Regions from separate parts of the Homo sapiens genome. Here region 2 is linked to region 1. Evidence: promoter capture Hi-C in 16 types of primary human blood cells and fetal thymus (Javierre and others, 2016). All regions are on one chromosome and are shown on one strand. The core of a region is centred on a gene start or on the middle of the fragment in contact, and the rest is flanking DNA. Distances in the headings are between cores, read along the strand shown. Region 1 holds the start of PTPRJ (protein tyrosine phosphatase receptor type J). Region 2 overlaps CELF1 (CUGBP Elav-like family member 1).

The links. Contacts are between HindIII fragments. The CHiCAGO score rates a contact against its expected background, and 5 or more counts as called.
Region 2: a fragment that was not itself captured here is called in contact with the fragment with the promoter of PTPRJ in region 1 in 1 of 17 cell types (activated CD4 T cells); the score reaches 5.3 in activated CD4 T cells.

What each region holds. Positions count from the first base shown.
Region 1 is chr11:47,977,437-47,982,515 of GRCh38, reverse strand. It overlaps PTPRJ (protein tyrosine phosphatase receptor type J), which reads right to left and starts at 1,957. Exons shown (of 25, transcript NM_002843.4): 1 at 1,508-1,957. The coding sequence starts at 1,603. RefSeq lists silencers at 927-1,356, 1,457-2,046. The HindIII fragment of the contact is 2,862 bases long and covers 1-2,761 here.
Region 2 is chr11:47,519,693-47,524,772 of GRCh38, reverse strand. The region is part of intron 1 of CELF1 (CUGBP Elav-like family member 1); the gene reads left to right. Among named protein-coding and RNA genes, the nearest start is that of CELF1, 31 kb to the left of the region's middle. The HindIII fragment of the contact is 1,414 bases long and covers 1,656-3,069 here.

The DNA.
Region 1 (5,079 bases), core at 708-3,207:
TTCCCTGAATTTCCTTACATGGACAGGGAGAAGACAGCCCCCACAGGCACTGTACCTTAATAATGAGAATCCCATGTGGAAACCCTTAATATTTACAAAGTTCTTTTAGACATTGGCCAGTGGAAGCCCCTCAAACAATTCCATTGGGCAGAGGGTGCTATACTCATTCTACAGATGCGGTTAACTGAGGGTAGAGAAGCCTGAAGAGCAAGTCCAGCCCTGTGGCCCGGCCCTGGAGCCAGTCTCCTGACATCTACTCCCAGGTTCTCTGCAGGAGGTCACATTGCCTTCTGGCCCCCAGGAGAGCCTGTGCAGAACCTGCTGGGGAAACTGCGAGGAGAGACCCTTGGGTGCCGAGGGTCACGCAGCCCCCAGGCCCCAGCCCCCTTCTCCTACAGCCTGCTAGGCGGCATTGCTGCCCCAGGGTGATGCTTCTGCTCTCTCCTGTATTCGCGCTGGAGAAGTTTTCCCTGAAACCAGGTTCCATCCCCAGCCAATAACTCATTTCCTCAGAGATGGTGTCTGTATAAAACAAGCAAGATGGTCATTTGCAGAAACGCACAGCAAGGCAGCCCTAGACCGCTTCCCCTGCGGGTTCAAACCCCAACAGGCTCCAGAGGCTAAGAGGACGTGCCCGCTGGCTCAGCTCCCATGGCACGGGCTGGGTGCTCCGCTATTTCACTTCTCTCCCTCAGTTCCCCATCTGTGAAATGGGAATGCCCCTTCAGCTGCTCTGCCTCAGCCCCTATGGAAATGCCAGGAAGGGGAAAGGTCGGTCACCAAAACGCCAGGGACAGCATTATCTGAAAAGTGAAGCCAGAAAAGAGGGTGAGGGTGGGGTGGGGAGGGGGAGCCAGCGCCCACAAAGCACGAATTAAACACCCATGAAATCAAGCACGACGCCAAGAGGGCCGGCTGCCTTGAGAAAAGCCAGCGTGCGGCCACCTTTTCCCCGGCCTGGGAACTTTCCCCAGGAACAGGGCCCTCGGCCCGGAGTCCCGCGCCTCGCCCAGGGCCCCACTGCCCAGCGCCTGGCCCTGCCCTGTCGCCCCCGCCGCCCCTCGGGCCCCTGCAGGCCGGGTCGGAGGTCTGTCGGCAAAGGCTCAGCCAGGCCGCCCGGCTCTGCGTCCCCAGACCTCCGCAAACACGCCCCCTCCGGCCGCCTCCGGCTAGGAAGCCGGGCCCGTGCCCGCCAGATGTGCCCAGCGCCGGGAAGAGCCGGGCCAGGGACGGCCTGGAGCCCGCGCGGAGGCTTTCCCCGGGAGGCTCGGGCACCGCGGCACCCGGATCCCGCCTCTCTCCCCCGATCCTGGGCAGCCGGAAAAGGGATCGATCGCCGGCGTGCGAGGCCGGCCGGGGTCCCCGCAAGTCGCCTTCCGGGGATCCGGGGATCCGGACCCCCGCCCCCTTCCCCGGAACCCCCCGGGGGGGTACGCTCGGGCAGGTGCAGTCAATGCCAGTCCCGCCCCAGCCTCCTGCCCCCCGCCCGAGCCCACCCGGCGCTTACCTGGCCCAGGCGCAGCAGCAGCAGCAGCAGCGGCAGCGCCCAGCGCAGCCCGGGCGAGCGCGGAGGCAGCCGCGCCTCCCGCGCCGCCGGCTTCATGCCCCGCGCGCCCTGGAACGTGCCCCGGACGCGCGAATCGGGCCCCGCCGTGCGCCCGAGCCCGGGCACCGTCGTCGCCGCCTCCTGCCGTCTCCTTCGCCTCCTCCTCCGCCAGCCGGTCCGCCTCGTCCCCGCTCCGCCCGCCCCGGGCTTCCCCGGAGACATGGCAGCGGCGGCGGCGGCCGCGGCCACACGCCGGAGCCTAGCGCGGCTGCCGCGGGGGGGCCGCGTCCCTGAGCGCGCAGGGGCTTCGCGGGGCGGAGCGAGCGGCGCCCACCCCCAGCGCGCGGCTACCCGGTCCCGGCTCCCGCGGCTGCTCCCGCTGCCTCCTCCGCGCGTCATGCGGCTGGGGCTGCTGCAGGGAGCCGCGGCGAGCGCTCGGCCCCCTCCCTTCCCCTCCCCCTCTGAATATTCATCGCTTCCTCCCGCCCCGGCCGGCCCGGCGGCTGCGGAGCTCCGCAGCCCCTCGCCGCCGCCCGCCGCTGCCCCCGCCCCCTCCGAGCCGGCCGCGGATCCCCTCCCGCGGGCAGAGGAAGCGCTCCCGCCTCGCCCGCCCCTCCGCCCAGCCCTCCCACATTCCTGGGACTTGGAGCCCGGGACCAGGCTCCGTGGCTCTAGCGCCTCGAGCCGGCACCCCTCAGGACGGGCTCCCCAGCCTCACACCAGGTCCACGGCGCCGGGTTCGGGTGGGCAGAGGTTGACCGAGACCCCTACTGAGAGCGCAGCCAAGCCTGATTGTAGACAGCAACCCGGCGAAGGCGCGTTTGACCTGGCCCTGGGTGGGCTTGGGGGTGCGTGAACCCCGAAATTGTAGAAGGCACGCTGTACATTGTGTTCTGTCCCCCAGCCCCCGAGCGCCGGCCAGGGAGGCAGAGAGCCCAGTACAAGCCAGTCCAGGGATTAGAACCCCAGCTGTGGCATATGGTGGACGGGGCTCTGCTGGTAGTACCAGCCCTGTGAACTCTGGAGACGCATTTCTCCTCTCTGGCCGACCCCACCCACCCTCCTCTCCTCCCGTGTGAAATAAAGATCGTACTAGGACGTGTGGAGAGAGAGGTCCACTGCATTCGCGATTAAACGAGACAGTAGTTAGTAAAGTCCTAAACACCTAGCCTGACACATCGTGGGACTCCACATACATTAGCTCTTCTGGAAGCTTTCATCACGTTGTTAAAGAGGTCAATGAACTGACAGGAGTTAAAGATCACAGCAGATATTACTCCTGTGCCCATGCACAGAGGAAGACACTAGGATCAGGGAGGCTATGCCACTTGCCCAGGAGAAGCCGCAAGAGAAAGGGCCAAACCAGAGAGTGCTAAGGAGGAAGAGGTTAATTCCAACCAGGAGAGAGGTGACACCTGAGCTGGGCTTTGAAGGATGTGTTGAGTTTCACCAGGCCAGTAGAGGGGAGAAGTGTCTCAGGAGGTGGGGCCAACTTGGCAGAAACGAGGCAGCAGATGCTTCGAGCTTGGCCTTCGGAGAAACAGGAATGGGAGGCTGGGGGATTCATACTGGGGGAGACTTCAAAGGCCAGGATAATGAGTCTAGGCTGGATTCTGTGTGCAGCAAGATGCAGACCACGAGGTGTCCAACACTACCTCCAGACACCCGTTGGGCCTCAGGTTACCATCTACAAGATGGGAATACACATTCACTTACAGGGTCTAAGTGGTTCCCACCAGACAACACACCCAGACAAGCACTGAGGATAAAGAAACTTTGCCAGGCCGCACGATGGCTCACGCCTGTAATCCCAGCACTTCCGGAGGCCAAGGTGACTAGATCACTTAAGCTCAAGAGTTCGAAACCAGCCTGGGCAACGGGGTGAAACCCAGTTTCTACAAAAATTAGCCGGGTGTGGTGGCACACAGCTGTAGACTAAGCTACCTGGGAGGCCGATACAAGGATGGCTTGAACCTAGGCTGCAGTAAACCAAGATGGCAACACTGCACTCCAACCTGGGGAATAACGTGAAAACCTGTCTCAAAAAAAAAAAAAAAAAAAAGAAGAGGCTGGGCGTGGTGGCTCACACCACACCTGTAACCCCAGCACTTCAGGAGGCCGGGGCAGGCAGATCACTTGAGGTCAGGAGTGCGAGACCAGCTTGGCCAACATGGTGAAAACCCATCTCTACTAAAAATACAAAAGTTAGCTGGGCGTGATGGCGTGCCTGTAATCTCAGCTACTCCAGAGGCTGAGGGCAGGAGAATCGCTTGAACCCGGGAGACGGAGGTTGCAGTGAGCCAAGATTGCACCACTGCACTCCAGCCTGGGTGACAGAGTGAGACTCCATCTCAAAAAAAAGAAAAGAAAAAGAAAAAAGAAACCTTACCTATGGACTTACACACCTTGCCACCCTTCATTTAAACACTATGTAATTATCATAATTCACAAGGATTTTTGTTCCTCTGTGCCTCCTCCCCTCTTGAGGCAGAGACATAAAAGGTGTTCATGTCCATGATACCCAGAGGGAAGGAAAGCTTGATTTAAGATGCTACCAGGGGGCTGGGCACAGTGGCTCACGCCTATAATCCCAGCACTTTGGGAGGCTAAGGTGGGCGGATCACCTGAGGTCGGGAGTTCAAGACCACCTGACCAACATGGAAAAACCCTGTCTCTACTAAAAATACAAAATGAGCTGGGTGTAGTGGCGCATGCCTGTAATCCCAGCTACTCGGGAGGCTGAGGCAGGGGAATCGTTTGAACCCAGGAGGCAGAGGTTGCAGTGAGCAGAGATCGCGCCATGGCACTCCAGCCTGGGCAACAAGAGTGAAACTCTATCTCAAAAAAAAAAAAAAAAGATGCTACTGGGTAGCCAAGGATGATTGCCAATTATAAAAAAGAAAAAGAAGATGATAGTAGGTCTGCAGGCTGCCTCGGATCCTCACAGACCCTACAGACCCTACTAACCCTGAAGACCGACCCAGGTCTCCACAGATTCATGGCTTGGGTCAGCAAACAGCTCTGTGAACTCCTGCACGCCCTTCAGTTTTCTCCTGGGTAAAATGTATGCCCAGCTTAAGTATTGGTTGGAACTGGATTTCGCCACTGCACAGTGATGAAACAAAATAAACAGCCTTTTCAGGAAAGGGAGTGAAGACCTGAATAATAAACTACCTCTTCAGCCATAAACAGATCACACTGGATTAATGACCTCTGAGAGAAATGAAATTAATCCTGGGTAGGTGTTACATCAACTCCTTGAGGACAGGGGTTGGGACCTCCTCACCTTGGTAGCCCTGCAACGTCCCACTCAGTGTCTTGCCTGTAGCAGGGATTGAATATTCGTGCAGATGCATGGCCACAAAAATGTATCCAGGGGTAACATGATGTGAAAGTTTATTTTTCGGCTGGGCGCGGTGGCTCACGCCTGTAATCCCAGCACTTTGGGAGGCCGAGGTGGGCAGATCACAAGGTCAGGAGATGGAGACCATCCTAGCTAACACAGTGAAATCCCGTCTACTAAAAGTAGAAAA
Region 2 (5,080 bases), core at 1,113-3,612, 460 kb after region 1:
CTCCTCCCTCTCTGAGCACGGAGCAGAATCTGTTCTGCTGAAGCTGCTGTTCCACTTTTTAGCTTGCTATATTTGTACAGCAACAGCAGGAGCAGCCCACTAGCTAGGCCGTGTGGCCACCCTTTGGCACCCGCACCGGCTCAGACCTGCTCAGGACTCAGCCAGGGCACACAGTTTGTGTTCTTACGTGCATCCATCTGTCTGTCTGTGTGCGTCTCTGTGGAGGACTGAGGTTTTCAAGTGAAAGAGGTGACTCGTTTGTCTTTGTTGTTTTGCTGTGTTCAGGTTTGTCAATTGTAAATTGTAGAGAATGCTTCAGGTTGTTAGGGATGGGGTGAGGAGACAAGATTTGTATTTAACAAAATACCGTCTTGGCGAGAGGGTACCAAACAGGGAAATGTGATGTCAGAAATGGTCTTTGGGTTCCCTTAGAAACATACCTTGTTGAAGTGGTAGTGTTTTTTTTTTCCTCTTTGTTTTGTTACAGGTCACAAAGATCAGCTCTTGGGGTGGTATTGAATTCCTTTCCTGGCACTCAAATTTTTTGACATAAAATTTGAGTATAAAAAGATGAGGCACCTCCACCCCTTTAAGAAATGATTTAGTGCACATCTTGAAAGAGTGCAGTAGGGGTTAAGTGTGTTGACTTCGCTGTCTGCCAGGAAAGGAACTGTGGGGAATGCCCTGTTGCTTTGGGCCCCACAGCAACCTATGCTGTTTGCGCTGTTTGAGTGCTTTGTAAAGTTTGGCCTTACAGAGGCCTTGTAATGCCTTTTGGTGTCATGTCTGTTTAAGGAATAGCAGAAGACATGACATGTAGACAAATTTCAGGTTATTTTCAGAAGATACTGGGTTTGTTACTGTATTTTAAAAGGATACTTTCTTGGTTTGTTATGAGATATTCTAATTAAACAGTGATGAATTCTTACTCCTGGTCAGTGTAAGTCTAAATTCAAGTTTGTTGCTTTGTTTTACAGTTTCCTTTCACTCCCCTCCCCCATCCCCTCATGAGTCATAAGCATGCAGTGTTGGGAATAGAACTTGTCAGCTGAGTGGGGATGAGACAGTTCTCTGCCCATACTATTTGTAACTGTAGTCAATGAGGAGAGGAAAGGACGTTATTAAATGCTGGAGAAACACCTTGATTGAGGCAGCTTCTTCTGTGGCTGTGTGGTATGGATGCAGAGTTCTGTGTGACTATACACTGATGTATTCTGGCTCTGAATCACTTAGGGATCTCTTCTGCACCTTGTGCATTGTAGGTTTTGGATGCTTATTTGTTTAGGGTCTAGGACCTGGTGCTTAGCCTCTCCTGGATCCTGTATATTTACTGACTTTCCAAATTCTTTTGAGTGTGGCATTATATCTGCTTCATCTTCTCTTTCTTGGCTATTCTTAGTGCCCTTCTCATTTTACTGTCCTAATGTTTTCCCATTTATACTATGAATCATTGTGCACCCTATGTAGAGCCTGTCATTGGAGATTAAAATCAGTGGCAGCTCTTTGATTTTACAGCTCAGCCTCAGTAAGTGACACTCTGATTAGCACACCTATATTCTAGCTTTCTTTTTGTTCTTGGCCTTTTTTAAAATTTATAACTTCCCTGGTCTCATTTTATTAGTTTATATTTTTCCAGTGTGTCCATTTTGAAAGCTTCATGAAAGAAATTTTTTTTTTGGTTTGATGGAAGGAATGAATAAATGTTTATACATAAATAAGTGTTCTCAGAACAAGTGGTTTGGTAATCCATAATGAAGATATACTGGACTCTAACAGGCCCAGTTGGAGGTGCAAGATCTGTCAGCCTATTGCTGCCAGAATTCTTACCTATTCACTTCCCCCTCCTGCTAGGAAATATTTTGGAATAATCTCAGGTACCCAATTTTTTTTTTAAATAAATGAAGCCTATTTTATTACTTCAAGTTTGCTTTTTTTTTTTTTTTTCTGGAGATGGAGTCTCGCTCTGTTGCCCAGGCTGGAGTGCAGTGGCACGAACTCAGCTCACTGCAGCCTCCACCTCCCAGGTTCAAGCAATTCTCCTGCCTCAGCCTCTGAGTAGCTGCGACTACAAGCGCATGCCACCACACCTGGCTAATTTTTGTATTTTAGTAGAGATGGGGTTTCACCACGTTGGCCAGGCTGGTCTCGAACTCCTGACCTCAGGTGATCCACCCACCTTGGCCTCCCAAAGTGCTGGGATTACAGGCCTGAGCCACTGTGCCTGGCGTTTTGTTGTTGTTGTTGTTGTTGTTTTAGACAGAATCTTGCTCTGTCACCAAGGCTGGAGTGCAATGGCACAATCTCAGCTCACTGCAACCTCTGCCTCCCGGGTTCTCCTGACTCAGCCTCCGTAGTAGTAGCTGGGACTTCAGACGCCCACCACCATGCCCAGCTAATTTTTGTATTTTTAGTAGAGATGGGGTTTCACCATGTTGGCCAGGCTGGTCTCCAACTCCTGATCTCGGGTGATCCACCTGCCTTGGCCTCCCAAAGTGCTGGGGTTACAGGCTTGAGCCACCATGCCCGGCCTACTTCAAGTGTTAATGATAAAAAAAATTTCAGCTGGGCAAGGTGGCTCACACCTGTAATCCTAGCACTTTGGGAGGCCGAGGCAGGCAGATCACCTGAGGTCGGGAGTTCAAGACCAGCCTGACCAACATGGAGAAACCCCGTGTCTACTAAAAATACAAAAAAATCAGCCAGGCTTGGTGGCACATGCCAGTAATCCCAGCTACTCGGGAGGCTGAGGCCGGAGAATCTCTCGAATCCGGGAGATGGAGGTTGTGATGAGCTGAGATCATGCCATTGCACTCCAGCCTGGGCAACAAGAGCAAAACCCGTGTCAAAAAAAAAAAAAAATCAGCATAGCTGTTGCATTTTAAAAAGTGAAACTACACACTATGTTTCTAGCTCAGTAAACAGATGAACCTGTTGTCTTTGAGTAACATAACCATTGAGCGTTGTACAGTACATCTTAAGATCAGGTACTTTATTTTGAAGAGATAGAATCATCATGTAACAGGCTGAAATTTTTTGGGACTCATTCTTTTCCACCATAAACACCAAGCTTGGTGCCCAGAATAATAATAGTAGCAAATGTTTATTGAGCACTTTCTATGTGTCAGGCACTATTCTAAATGCTTTACATGTATAAATTTAATTCTAACAAATATCCTGTAAGGTAGATACTGTTTGTGTAACCATTTTGTGCATGAAGAAACAGAGGTATTTATGAAGAAGTTAAACAATTTCCCCAGTTACCTGGCTAGTAAGCAGCAAAACTGGGATTAGAAAGCAGTGGTATGACTCTAGAGTCTAGGTATAGGGTACATTGTGGGTTTGTAGTAAATATTTGTCTATTTTATTAGCACACTTTGTTATTTGAGATTATTAAATTATGAATCAGTCTAACCCATTTTCATTTTAGAATTTCCTTATGAAAATAACTATATGATTTTGGTTTTGCAGATCACCATCAACTGTACTAGTTCATTTATTTTTTATTTTATTTTTTATTTTTGGAGACGGAGTCTCTCTCAGTCGCCCAGGCTGGAGTGCAGTGGCACGACGTCGGCTCACTGCAAACTCCGCCTCCCAGGTTCACGCCATTCTCCTGCCTCAGCCTCCGGAGTAGCTGGGACTACAGGCGCCCGCCACTATGCCCGGCTAATTTTTTTGTATTTTTAGTAGAGATGGGGTTTCACTGTATTAGCCAGGATGGACTCGATCTCCTAACTTCGTGATCCGCCCATCTTGGCCTCCCAGAGTGCTGGGATTACAGGCGTGAGCCACCACGCCCGGCCCTCTAGTTCATTTATTGGTGGTAAAGAACAGCAAGCCAAGTAACAAGTTTGTGAAACATCTCTAAAATTACTAGTTTATCTCCACTAGTACCAGACTATTTACTGAAGATATTGAAAGCAGAATTAATTTTAGCCTTTTTTGGGTCGGGGGGGAGCGCAGGAAGAGATTGGTTCTCACTGACCCAGGCTGGAGGGCAGTGGCACAATCTTGGCTCACCACAACCTCTGCTCCCAGGGTCAAGTGATCCTCCCACCTCAGCCTCCTGAGTGGCTGGGACCACAGGCACATGCCGCCATGCCCAGTTAATTTTTTTGTATTTTTTGGGTAGAGGTAGGGTTTTGCCATGTTGCCCAGGCTGGTCTTGAACTCCTGAGCTCAAGTGATCTGCCCACCTCGGCTTCCCAAAGTGCTGGGATTACAGGCATGAGCCACAGTGCCTGGCCTGCTTCTTTACCTCGTTCCTGCACCACACATCTTCCGGAGATGCCCTTACAAGGGGAGCATGGGAAGGTAGAACCAGCAAGTTTTGCCATATCCATAAACTTATAATCTGTGTGAGAGTGACAGGAAAACACAGAGAAGTCTGTTCAAAAGAAATGATGATGAAGGAATTATTAGTAGGCCATGTAATTCAGTGGAGGGTAGCAAAAAATGTATTGTATCATGGACAGTGTGATGAAATAGCACAAAAATTTGATTTAGACAGGGAAATAAGAATCAGCTCTCCTGAGATTTTTTAAGTCTTTCACATTTATGGTAACATTTTCCCTTAGATAGATGCTCTCCCATGTTTCTTGTTTCTAGTGCAAGTCGTATTTTCTGAACAAGACCATTAACTCCTTAAGGACAGGGATTGTGCCTTTTTTTTTGGTATCCTCTTTAGTTCTGGGTATATAGTAGATGTTTTCTAAAAATGTAGTTGCTTTTTTGATTGATAGATCTCCTGGCTTTTTTTTTTAAGAGCTTGTTTTTGTAAAAATGAAATCAAAGCACTGACAAGTTAAATTTTGTGGAACAGTTGAGTTTTTTTAGGAGTGATTTGAAGGATGTGACAGATGATTTAAGTGGGTATTTAAATGTGAGAAGCACTCCTTTTTTTTTTTTTTGAGACGGAGTCTGGCTCCGTCGCCCAGGCTGGAATGCAGTGGCACGATCTCAGCTCACTAAAAGCTGCGCCTCCTGGGTTCATGCCATTCTCCTGCCTCAGCCTCCCGAGTAGCGGGGACTACAGGCGCCCACGACCACGCCCAGCTAATTTTTATTTTCAGTAGGGGTT